Regions from separate parts of the Homo sapiens genome. Here regions 1 and 3 are each linked to region 2. The links are contacts of gene promoters, found by promoter capture Hi-C in blood cells and fetal thymus (Javierre and others, 2016). All regions are on one chromosome and are shown on one strand. The core of a region is centred on a gene start or on the middle of the fragment in contact, and the rest is flanking DNA. Distances in the headings are between cores, read along the strand shown.

Region 1 (3,504 bases), core at 470-2,969, 8.1 Mb before region 2:
AGGCCAAATGAAACTATAAATACTACTTAAATATAGTACATAACTTCGCTTTTGTATTCTTTTTTAGTTTACCTCATAAAAGTTGCTACAGGGGCTGGGCGCGGTGGCTCATGCCTGTAATCCCAGCACTTTGGGAGGCCAAGGCGGGTGGATCATGAGGTCAGGCGTTCGAGGCCAGCCTGGCCAACATGGTGAAACCCTGTCTCTACTAAAAATACAAAAAATTAGCCGGGCATGGTGGTGTGCGCCTGTAATCCCAGCTACTCGGGAGGCTGAGGCAGGAGAATTGCTTGAACCTGGGAGGCAGAGGTTGCAGTGAGCTGAGATCGCACCACTGCACTCCAGCCTGGGCGACAGAGTGAGACTCCGTCTCAAAAAAAAAAAAAAAGTTGCTACGGGATGGTAGAAAGGGCATTAGACTAGTTTCTCATTCTGGCTCTGCCACTGACTAGCTTGGTCACCAGAGGCAAGTCACTTAATTTCCCTAGGCCTTAGTTTCCTATATGCTGGACGAGGAAGCTGGAGCTGGCTAGATAGTGGTTGATCTACGGCTGGTGACTCTTCGTAGTATAAAATACCTAAACAGAAGCTGGACATGGTAGCTTACATCTATAATTCTAGTACTTTGGAAGGTCAAGGCAGGAAGATTGCTTGAGCCCAGGAGTTCACAATTATAGTGAGCTATGATCATGCCACCGCATTCCAGCCTGGACAACACAGCAAGACCCTCTCTCTAAAACAAAACAAAACAAACAAAAAATAAATTCCTAAACAATTGAGTTCCTCACAACATAAAATTTGTGTTCTCTAATTTCAAGTTTACTTAGCATAAGGTTTTAGCAATACACATTTACTCCATGTCCCCTCCACAGTTGGAAGACTCAACAAATTTCAAGACAATCAAGGGTTAATTCATGTGTTAATGACACTAATATAACAATGACTTAGGCCTATCTTCAGTTTTGCCCATTAATGGAATCAAAATTCAAAAATGGAAAGGCAAGAAATTTGAGAAAAATTCCTGCCTTTGTAAACAGAAACCTCAACCAAGGGCAAATATCTAATGATTGAAGGATCAGCATTATTAACTCAGATTTCTTTGACACCTAGTTTGGTTCTGCATTTTTCCCTTTGTACTATTTTGGTATGAAGGCTCTCTCTTCATGGTAAGAGAAGCTGCTGACTATACTACTATAACATTACAATGTGCAGTCGATATCTTAGGAGAATTAGTAGACACCTGGACAACTTTTAAACTTTCCATTTTTCAATGATCACTGATAAAACATCAAGGCTAATTTAGTTATTTAGAAACAATCAATAGTATTTAACACTCTATTGGGGGAAAAAAAGGATGGCAGAAATCACCAAAAAAAAAAAAAGTTGTAAAATATGTTGAGTAGATAAGCTGGCATCTGTTCTCAGAACTTCTCATCATAGGCAAGATTTATTTTCTATTCTGTATCACGAAGTGATAACCTTTCTAACTATATGGCACTCTTTGTACTCTTGCAGCATTTTATTCTATCAGAGTAAGTGAAGACTATGAAGAATGTTCTCAGTGCATCTCAATTTTTTTTTACAATCTTAGTCTCTAGTATACCAATGAGTTATTATTTTTAAAGATTCTCAGATATTTGATCAATTGTATACTTGCTAGATCAGCTTTAATTTTCAAAATATCTATGTTTCCAGTTTTGGTGAAAAAATATTTCTCAATGTCTTTTTCTTCTGTTAACTTATATCAACCACCTCTACTAAACGATTAATACGTCTTTCTTTTTGGGGTTCTGTTATTGAATGAACACCTGACACTCGCAGGTGATTTCTATTAGCTGTGAAAAAAATCACATCAGAGCCAATTTTTGGCAAATTTACATATAAATTAGAAGCCTACTGAATGAAAAGGTTTTCTAAGATTAATAAGATGAAAGCAAAGTAGCAGTTTTTTCCTACCAGGCATCATCAAGTAATGAAATGTCTACTGAAGTAGAATGTCCGTATAACTAAAGTTTTTATGTTCAGGTACTGAGACTTATTTTAAGCATTTTAAATACATAGGTCCAAAATGTTTATATAATTATGTAACTTGTTAAACATCCTTGGACATAAAAACTTTCCCCTGATGGTTTAGGATCATTATATTGAACGTAAACTATTTGATTGTGTGATAACATAATCGTGCTGATTTTTTAGCTTTTTCATTTTTGCCTCTATGTCAGACCACATGACATTTTTTGGTAGCGTCTGACTCATCAACCCTCTTTAAAATGCTGCTTCTCACATTTCATGGGTTAAGAAACCACACAACTAACTTAACTGTGTGTTAAATAGGAGCCAACTAGGATCTAAGTGCAGGTCAAATTAAAAAGTAAACAATTCAATATAGTAGCTTTTTGACAGCTATTTCTTATAAATGGAGGTCTTCTGCACAGGTTCAGTGGCCAAAGTTTTCCAAGTCTGAAACTAGCCTAAAGCAGGTCCTTAATTAGTCCCAGAATCTAAAAATGTTTATTTTCTCAGACCTAAATTTGAGATAGCTTGCTCCTTTTCTACCCGAGAAAGAAGTATTGGAGAATGTTTATCACAAACCTCTACCACCTACATCTGGTTTCCAAAAGCAATAAACTTACACCAACCACTGGCAAATCAGGTAGTAACCTCAAGCGGTGGTCCTGACAAAATTTAATGGAAGAATAATCATGTAATTCATCTCTCCTGTCTTCACCTCCACCTTCATTGCTGGAATCAGGTCAGTCTGCGACCACCTTAGGAGTACATAGTTAGGGTTCCTTCAAAAAGCAACTTTACTACAATCAATAAAGAGGCCAGGTGGTCAGGTGAATTGTACCTCAAAACCAAATAGAAACATCCTAAAGGCAGAGCCACAGGAAAATTCTTGCAGGAATTCCATGCCTCTGTTCATCTTCTTCCTGCTAGTTAGAACATCCTTCCCACCTTGTCACCTGGTCAACCATGGCTCATCCTTCACCTCCCAGCTCAAGTATCACCTACTCAGTAGTCTCCTGACTCCTCACCAGATGCAGTAACTTTCTACTTTGTGCAACCTACCACTGCATTTTGTACACATTTCTAACATAAATCAGATAACAATGTAATTTGCTTACTTTTCTTCTCAATTTCAAACTGAATTACCTAAAAGCAGAATGTTGCTTTCGTTTTTGAAAACCCTACAACTGAGAGTGCCTGGTCCACAAATAATGGTTTTTGAGCAAGTGGAGTTCAAAAAGATTTCATACCTAGCACTGATCTTTCACAACTCTATTCATTAGGAGATGTGAAAAATAACTTCCATTATAAAAATAAAACCACGAAGTATCACTCAGTCACTTACATAATCAAAAAGGAGGAGGCCGGGCGCAGTGGCTCACGCCTGTAATCCAGCGCTTTGGGAGGCCAAGGCGGGCGGATCACGAGGTCAGGAGTTTGAGAGCAGTCTGGCCAACATGGTGAAACCCCATCTCTACTACAAATATAAAAAAA
Region 2 (3,432 bases), core at 299-2,798:
GGAGGCTGAGGCAGAAGGGCGTAAACCTGGAAAGTGGAGCTTGGAGTGAGCAGAGATCGTGCCACTGCAATCCAGCCTGGGCGACAGAGCGAGACTCTGTCTCAAAAAAAAAGTATCTGGTCAAAGTTACACAGCAAAATCTAACTTAACACATATATGCAAAAAAAAAAATTGTGCAATTCAATGCCACTTTCCCTTCTGGCAAACTAAGGACATGCTTAACATTCAGCAATAGGTTCACCCGACATTTGCTTAGCCCTAGATACTGTGCAAAGTACTTCCATATATATCCTTTCCTTGTACCCTTACAGCAATACTCTCAAAGAGTTAAAGTGTTCTTATCCCTGCTTTACAGATGATAAAACTGTATCTAAGAAAGATTAAGCTGCACGTATTCTCACAGTTAATTTGCTCTAAGTCTGACTGCATAGATGTTACTCCTTCTGCAACACGGGTAAAATCCACTTTCATTGTTTCAATTATCCACCATGTAAGTGCCTATGATTCCCCAATCGCATTTCTAATTTTAGTATTCATCCTGAGCCCCAAATCTATCCACAGCATTCAACAGTTCTCATCTCCCTTATAAGTCCTACGAACTCATCCAAAAAACGAACACATAATCCCATATCAAAACTTGTTCCTTCTCCTTTAATCCCTTTCATTTTTTTTCACTGATTAGTGAATGCATATTGTCCACTAAAACGCAGAAGATAGTCATTACACAAATAGCTGTGAAATACCACCTGACATAAATTCTCTATTCCAGTACCATCGGGTGCCACGAGAGCATATGATAGCGTCTGACATGATCAGAAAGACTGGGGAAGGCAACAGTAAGAAAACACTAGTCTGAGCAGAGGCCTTGTTCTGGGTGGGAGCATGGTTCTATTTATAGTGATGACTGACCGGCCAAAGGTTAGTAGGTTCGCTGCCTCTTCAGTGCATATTCCTATGAACAATCCATAAAGTCGCCTAATGAAGTGTTAGCACCATCGTTTTTAGGTGGGATGCAAACTTTCAATATTATGACTAATTTTTTCCCTCTTAATGGTACACGTTCTGCCTAAGTAGCCTAGACGCTCCCGTGCGCCCGGGGCGGGTAGGCCTGGCCGAAAATCTCTCCCGCGCGCCTGACCTTGGGTTGCCCCAGCCAGGCTGCGGGCCCGAGACCCCCGGGCCTCCCTGCCCCCCGCGCCGCCCCGATTTGCCCTCAGAGAGGGTATCGATCTTATTTCTGGGTCTACGGCAAACTCCAAGGTCTACAAACGTAGAGGTCAGCTGTGACCCCGGGCCAGGCCGTGAAGGTCCCCAGGACACAGAGCTGCTCTCTCCTCCTAGTAAAGGTGAGAGGCAGCCCAGGCCTCGTGAAAAAACCCAGAACTGGAGTCCCAAAAGGCCACGCTGATCTAGCTACCCTCCCAGTCACCTTGCACTCAGTCCCGAGCTGCCAAAGCCTCCGCCGCCACCACCTCCGCTCTACTTCCGGCCCTGGCTCCGCCCCCACACGCCTACCCGCCATCGCAATGCATTATGGGCCGCCGTTTCAGTCGGTCGACGCTCACCGGACAGGAAGCGTCTCGGAGACAGTCTGCGACCGGACGGGTCTAGGTGAGACAGAAGCCAAACAGGAGGAGGAAGTGGAGGGTAAGTGCTTCCGGGTCCCCTGGCACAGCCTCCGCCATCTTTTCTTCGCCTAATTTGACCCGTTCTTTTTCCCCTCCTTGAAACCTTGCTCTGTACGCATGCGCTCTTTGAGTGGCCTTTCCCCTAGTTCAAGCTCCCCTCCGAGTCAGCGTCCTGTTCGTTAGGGTTATCGAAGTGTATAAAGGTGCAGGGAAAGTGAGACTGTGTAAAACAAAGCGGATTGGGGCGTTGTGCTTCCTTGTACCTCGTGAGCCTCCGTTGCCTTGGGCGGTCGTTTTGCGCACCCTGCCGGGAGTTGTAGTCCTGGACCCGAAGGTGCCTGGGAGGCGGGAGGGGGGTTGGGGCTTCTCAGCGCCGATTCCGCGGGAAGGGCCCTGGGACCTCACACTTCTAGTCGCGGGAGCTGCAGGTCTTACCCGGAGAGACGCTGCACGTGGAGCCCTCGCCGCTGCCGTTCTCAGCCGGCTCTGGAGTGCGGGCGGGGGCGACAGGGCCGATTCCGGAGTGGGTGAGTGCGGCCGCCGGGGAGGAGGGGAGCGCGGGCCCTCGCGGGCCGGCCTCGTTCCGGGGCCTTTTCCCCCACAAGGGCCCCCCCGCGGCCGCCTCTGTGTTTTGTTTCCGCTGGTCCCCGGCGCTGTGACTCCCATTTCCGTTCGTGGAGACTTGAGGGAGCCGGGTGGGGAGGGGCGGGAGAGCTGTGCGGGGAGCGAAGGGGAGGGGCGGGGGGCGAGCGGCCTGGAGCCCGGGGGGACCGGGCACCGCCGGGACCCGTGCCGGACGGGTCGCCTGTCGCCGCTCCCTCCTTTCCGCGTCCCCTCCTCGCCCGTCCGCACTCCTCAGCAGTCTCAGCCTGCTCAGCTGGGATGTGGTCCTGACGCCCCCGAGATTTTAAGAGCAAAATGCAGACCCTGTCTCATCGCGGGACTCAGCGATTCACTCATTTCAAATCCGCTCTCTTTATAGAACAACACACACCAGAATCATTTATCAGCGTATATGGTAGCCATCTGGGTTTGTTTTTTTGTTTTTAAGCAAGGAAGTAAACCAAGGAGATAACAATGGGTTGTCTACTTGGAAATTTTTTTGTGTACTAGAAGACACGCTGTATGTGCGTGTTTGGATTTAGGGACCCCAGTTTGATCAGGTTAGCGGACCGAGAGGACAATGCCTAATATTGCATTGCAAGATGATTAGAAATTTAGAAATAAAATTCATTTCATAAGTAGTTTCCACTAATAGCAGTAGGTCTGACTCGTGAGAAGAGCAAAGATTTAGCAGGATTCACTTGAGCGAATTGTAGAACGAGGCGGTGATAACATTCTTCGGTAGTGTTATCTTGAACTTCAGAAGAAACCGCTCAACTCTTTAGCAACTGCTTGAGGGACTAGCCTGTCTCTCAGGGTTCCATCCAGGCTTTCCAAGCTTCTTTATTTTTAGACATACAGTGACGCTGAGTGGACTTCAAGTCAATTTTACCTGAATTGTGTATACAAGAGCATCTGTCATGAGGCATGTATAGTAATGAAGTAATTAAATCATGAGCTAGATGTTAGGTTGAAGCAAATCATCAGACCGAGTACTAAATTAAAACTGTTGACTTTAGCCTTCCCTCAACTCTTTATATATAAAACTCCAAACCTACAGAAGAATTGGGGAAAAAATCATGCAGTGAACACGCAGATACCCTTCACCTGAGGGTCCCAACTGTTAATCTTTCACTGTATGTGCTTTCTCTTTTTATATTACATAGATATGTATGCTTTGCTTTTTCTTAACTGCTACCTT
Region 3 (3,919 bases), core at 162-2,661, 7.9 Mb before region 2:
ACTTATTTCTGTATTAGGAAAAATGGGGTTGTTGCAGGGGTCTTTAAAAAAAAAAGATTTCTCTTAAATTCGTAACTCTGTTAACTGCACCTTCATTTCCAGAAACCTTATCTTTAACAAATCTCTACACTATTCATACTTAGCACAATTTCCAATCATTGAAGACATTTTAGTTTTACCTTACAATCAGTACAAAGCAGCTGTGTTAAATTCATTCCATAAGATCAAAACTATACTGTGTCCTTACCCTCAATATTTAGCTCAAAACAAATGTGGCAGAAGGAGAGTGTTTCTTTGTCTGTTCCCAGTTTACAAACACTGCAAATGTTGTCATCATTCAAATCAATGTTTACAAACTGCTCCTCTTCGTTCATAGTGCCCCTATTAAGAAACAGAAAAGGAAAGTTACACAATTTCATGAACCTGCCTTTGGGGTAGTTCCCTTTACTGGGAACTTCTAGGAAATAAGGATGCTGTTCAGCTCATTTAAAGCAAAAGCTCCATCAAACAAGCATCGCCATACTTGCACTCCAACATTGCACTTTTCCTGTGGAAAGACACAAAGCTAGTAAAACTTAAAGCCAGGCCATAGGTGACACTATGTCCGTGTCTTTTTTGTCCTATAGTTGATTGGGTTAGTGGCACCTGAAGGAAAGAGATTTGCCGGCATTCTAGTCCTCCTCCTTCGTCCCCCAACCTCGAATAATCAGAGGGCTTAGCAGCGAGGCCTTTTCAGCTACCAGGTTCTGTCAACCTAGTTAACGCTGTGAGAAACAGGAAAAACGACCTGCACGGGACACTGCTTTGCTAACTTCATTGGGGGAACCTCAGATGCGCCTCGCGAACTCGGAGTTGCGAAGCTTCGCATCGAACGGAGATCGGCGGCAGCAAAATGCACGTGGGTACCGAATACCCGGGGAGGGCGTCCCGCCGTGTCCGGGGCAACTACACCGAAGGCCGAGCGGCGGCTTCACGGTACCGGCCGGGCACCGCCGGAGGGGCCCAAGCCGGAGCTGGGAGAGCCGCGGCATCCTGGAGCCCGGCGGGCGGGAGAGCCTCGTCCCATCGCTCCGGGATTCCTCCCAGAGGGAAGAAAGCGTCCGAGGGCCACGGCGGCCGGTCCGCCCAGCCTCAGCGTCTCGGGGAGCCGGGTCCTGGCCCGGCCTTCGGCGTTGGGGGCGCGCGGCCGCCCCCAGGGAGTCGCGGACCCAAGTCCGTCTTTCCGTCGGTCTGTCCGTCGGGGCGCCTGGCGCGCAGCAGCGCGAGGGGCCACGGGGCTCGGAACTCGAAGGAGGCGGAACGATGGGACTGGGGGTCGGGGCTCAGGTGGGATGGGAGCAGGGCTGCGGGGTCTTTACCGTCCGGCTCCGCGGGCCACCACCGCCGTTCCGTGCGGCTCGGGTTCCTCCACTATTGTTTCCGGCCGCAGCAGAGGCGGCCGCCGCGCGCCTGGCCCCGCCCTCTCCCGCCGGCTCCATCCCGTAAAGGCTGCGGGGAGGGTGGCGCGGCCGCGGGCACACCTGCGCGCTCGCCGGGCTGCTGTGGGTCCGCCCCTCCGCTCCTGCACCGACGCCGCACCTTCGCCTCGAGTTCTCCTGTGATCCCGTGTTTCCTGGCCGGAGTTTCTTACCGTTCTCTGGAACGTAGCTCCTCACACACCCCTCCTCGAGGTGCGTAGATAGACGAATCCGTTCCACCTCTCCCTTCAGCCTAGTGCAAACTACTGCCCCGGGGCGGGGGCCGCAGGCGGCGGGGGTAGGAAAGCCGCGGGTGGATGGCAGAACGGGAGAGGTGCGTGGGTGGCACTTTGACTTCAGGAGAAAGAAGCAGAATACTGTCACTGAACTTATAGTTAAGTGCCAGTTGAAGTATCTAACGAAGGAAAAGTTCATATTCAGGTGTCATGATAGAGGCATAATTTCAAATACAGAATCTTTTCAAATACATTATTTGTTGTGGGGCGCCCCTGCCCCCAATATGGTACATCCCTCAACGCCCACGGGAAAAATCCCGAAGCCCCACCTCTTATTTTTAGGTCCTGCTTGGTTCTCAAATTCTTTGCTTGACTTTTGTTTAAGCTATTCTGTTTTTTTTAGGGTATGGTTCTTGCAGTACTTTCACTTACATTTTCCATTGTAGTCCTCACAGTAACCTACAGAGGAGAAACAGGAACTGTTCTCTCATGTTGCAGCCTACGAGTAATTGACCCAGGTTATCACAGTTGGTTAGAAAAAGGCTGGGACTTGAACCGAAGGCTACTGACCTAAGATCAATGTTATTTTCTACAGCATCATATGTATGTGTTCTGGTTGCACTCACATAGAAAGAGGGCTAGCCTGTCAATCTACATGTAGGCATTCTTGAACTGATGGTTAGGAATGGACTGTCTAGATCTTGGAAACTTCTGGGCCAAATTAGCACTCCAGTTATGGCATTTGTGCCTCGCAGGAGCGATCTGTGTCCTTGCCACCTAAATTGTAGTAGATGAACAAACAACATTGACATTACTTGGTTTCCTGTTAGAAATGTAGAATCTCAGGCCCCACTCGAGATTTCCTAAATCAATACTTGCACTTTAACAAGACCGCCAGGAGATTCCTATGTTCATCGAAGTTTGAGATGCACTAATTGAAATGAAAAGCCTGTGCTTTTTCTCTTCGAATTTCTCATTCTAGGTAACTACGACTAAGATACCTTGCATGTTGGATTCTACCCATCTTTTCAATAAAAAGCATTCTTTTAAAAAGGACTCTTTTAAAGTGATTCAATAAAAGTGTTCTAAAATCACTAAAATTTAAAAATTGAAACAAGTTATTTTCACTTCTCAGAATTGTCTTCCTTCCTATGGCATTTCACATTGTTTACTTGCTATTCTTAAAACTCTTCTCTCTTGTTGTTGGCTTTTTAAAAAAAATCAAGGAATAATTTACAGAAATAAAATGCTTCCATTTTAAAAGCATTATTTGATGAGTTTTGGCAAATACATACACTTGAGTAACCACCACCCCAGTGAGGATACAGAACATTTCCACAGCCCCGACATTTCTTTCTGTTCCTTTCTGGTCAAGCTCCTTCAACATGGGATCTAATTTATATGACGAAGTGTTTTAGTTTTGTCTGTTATAGGAATTCATATACATAGAATTAAGCAGTGTGTGTTCATTTGTGATTGGCTATTGTCATGCAGCATGTTTTTGAGATTCACGATGGTATTTTGTAACAGTGGTTTCTTTTCACTGCTCGTCTTAGTCAGTTTGTGTTCCTATAAAGGAATACCCAAGGCTGGATAATTTATATAGAAAACAGGTTTATTTGGCTCATGGTTCTGGAGGCTGTACAAGAAGCATGGTGCCAGCATCTGTTTCTGGTGATGGCCTCAGGCTGATTCCATTCATGATAGGAGGCAAAGGAGAGCCAGTATGTGCAGAGATCATGTGGCCTGAGAGTGAGCAAGAGAGAGAGGGGAGGAAATTCCAAGCTTGCTCTCTCTTTATTTATTTTTTATTTTTTATTTTATTTTATTTAAAAACGAGTTCCACTGGGAATTAAGAGTGGGAATTGATTCACACCCTAGAGAATGGCACCAAGCCATTCATCAGGGATCCATAACTAAGCTCCAACCCCTTGCTCTCCACTCCCCAACCAAGCTTCACCTCCAACGCTGGGGATCAGTGGGGCATGGGGGCTCATACCTGTAATCTTAGCACTTTGGGAGGCTGTGGTGGGCTGATCGTTTGTGTCTAGGTGTTCGAGACCAGCCTGGGCAACATCGTGAAACCCCATCTCTACCAAAAAACCCCACAAAAATTAGCCAGGCAGGGTGGTGCATGCCTGTAGTCCCATCTACTCAGAAGGCTGAGGTGGGAGACTGGCTTGAGTCCTAGAGGTGGATGTTGTGTGAGCTGAGATTGTGCCACTT

The links. The method cuts DNA at HindIII sites, captures the fragments that hold promoters and counts their contacts. A CHiCAGO score of 5 or more calls a contact.
Region 1: a fragment that was not itself captured here is called in contact with the fragment with the promoter of GABPA in region 2 in 1 of 17 cell types (total CD4 T cells); the score reaches 5.1 in total CD4 T cells.
Region 3: a contact is called between the fragment with the promoter of C21orf91 here and the fragment with the promoter of GABPA in region 2, in 7 of 17 cell types (total B cells, non-activated CD4 T cells, fetal thymus and 4 more). The highest score is 22.6, in total B cells.

What each region holds. Positions count from the first base shown.
Region 1 is chr21:17,600,790-17,604,293 of GRCh38, forward strand. All of the region lies in intron 3 of BTG3 (BTG anti-proliferation factor 3), which reads right to left. It also overlaps a transcript of CXADR not described here. Among named protein-coding and RNA genes, the nearest start is that of BTG3-AS1, 9.1 kb to the right of the region's middle. The HindIII fragment of the contact is 4,212 bases long and covers 1-3,504 here.
Region 2 is chr21:25,733,424-25,736,855 of GRCh38, forward strand. GABPA (GA binding protein transcription factor subunit alpha) reads left to right here and starts at 1,549. Exons shown (of 10, transcript NM_002040.4): 1 at 1,549-2,155. ATP5PF (ATP synthase peripheral stalk subunit F6) reads right to left here and starts at 1,481. Exons shown (of 4, transcript NM_001003703.2): 1 at 1,430-1,481. RefSeq lists enhancers at 903-982, 1,301-1,956, 1,383-1,492, 1,513-1,632 and silencers at 1,093-1,192, 2,133-2,272, 2,333-2,542. The HindIII fragment of the contact is 6,464 bases long and covers 1-3,067 here.
Region 3 is chr21:17,817,945-17,821,863 of GRCh38, forward strand. It overlaps C21orf91 (chromosome 21 open reading frame 91), which reads right to left and starts at 1,412. Exons shown (of 5, transcript NM_001100420.2): 1 at 1,359-1,412; 2 at 248-381. The coding sequence starts at 374. The region is part of intron 2 of LOC124900465 (a long non-coding RNA gene); the gene reads left to right. RefSeq lists a silencer at 1,027-1,806 and an enhancer at 2,057-2,106. The HindIII fragment of the contact is 2,618 bases long and covers 859-3,476 here.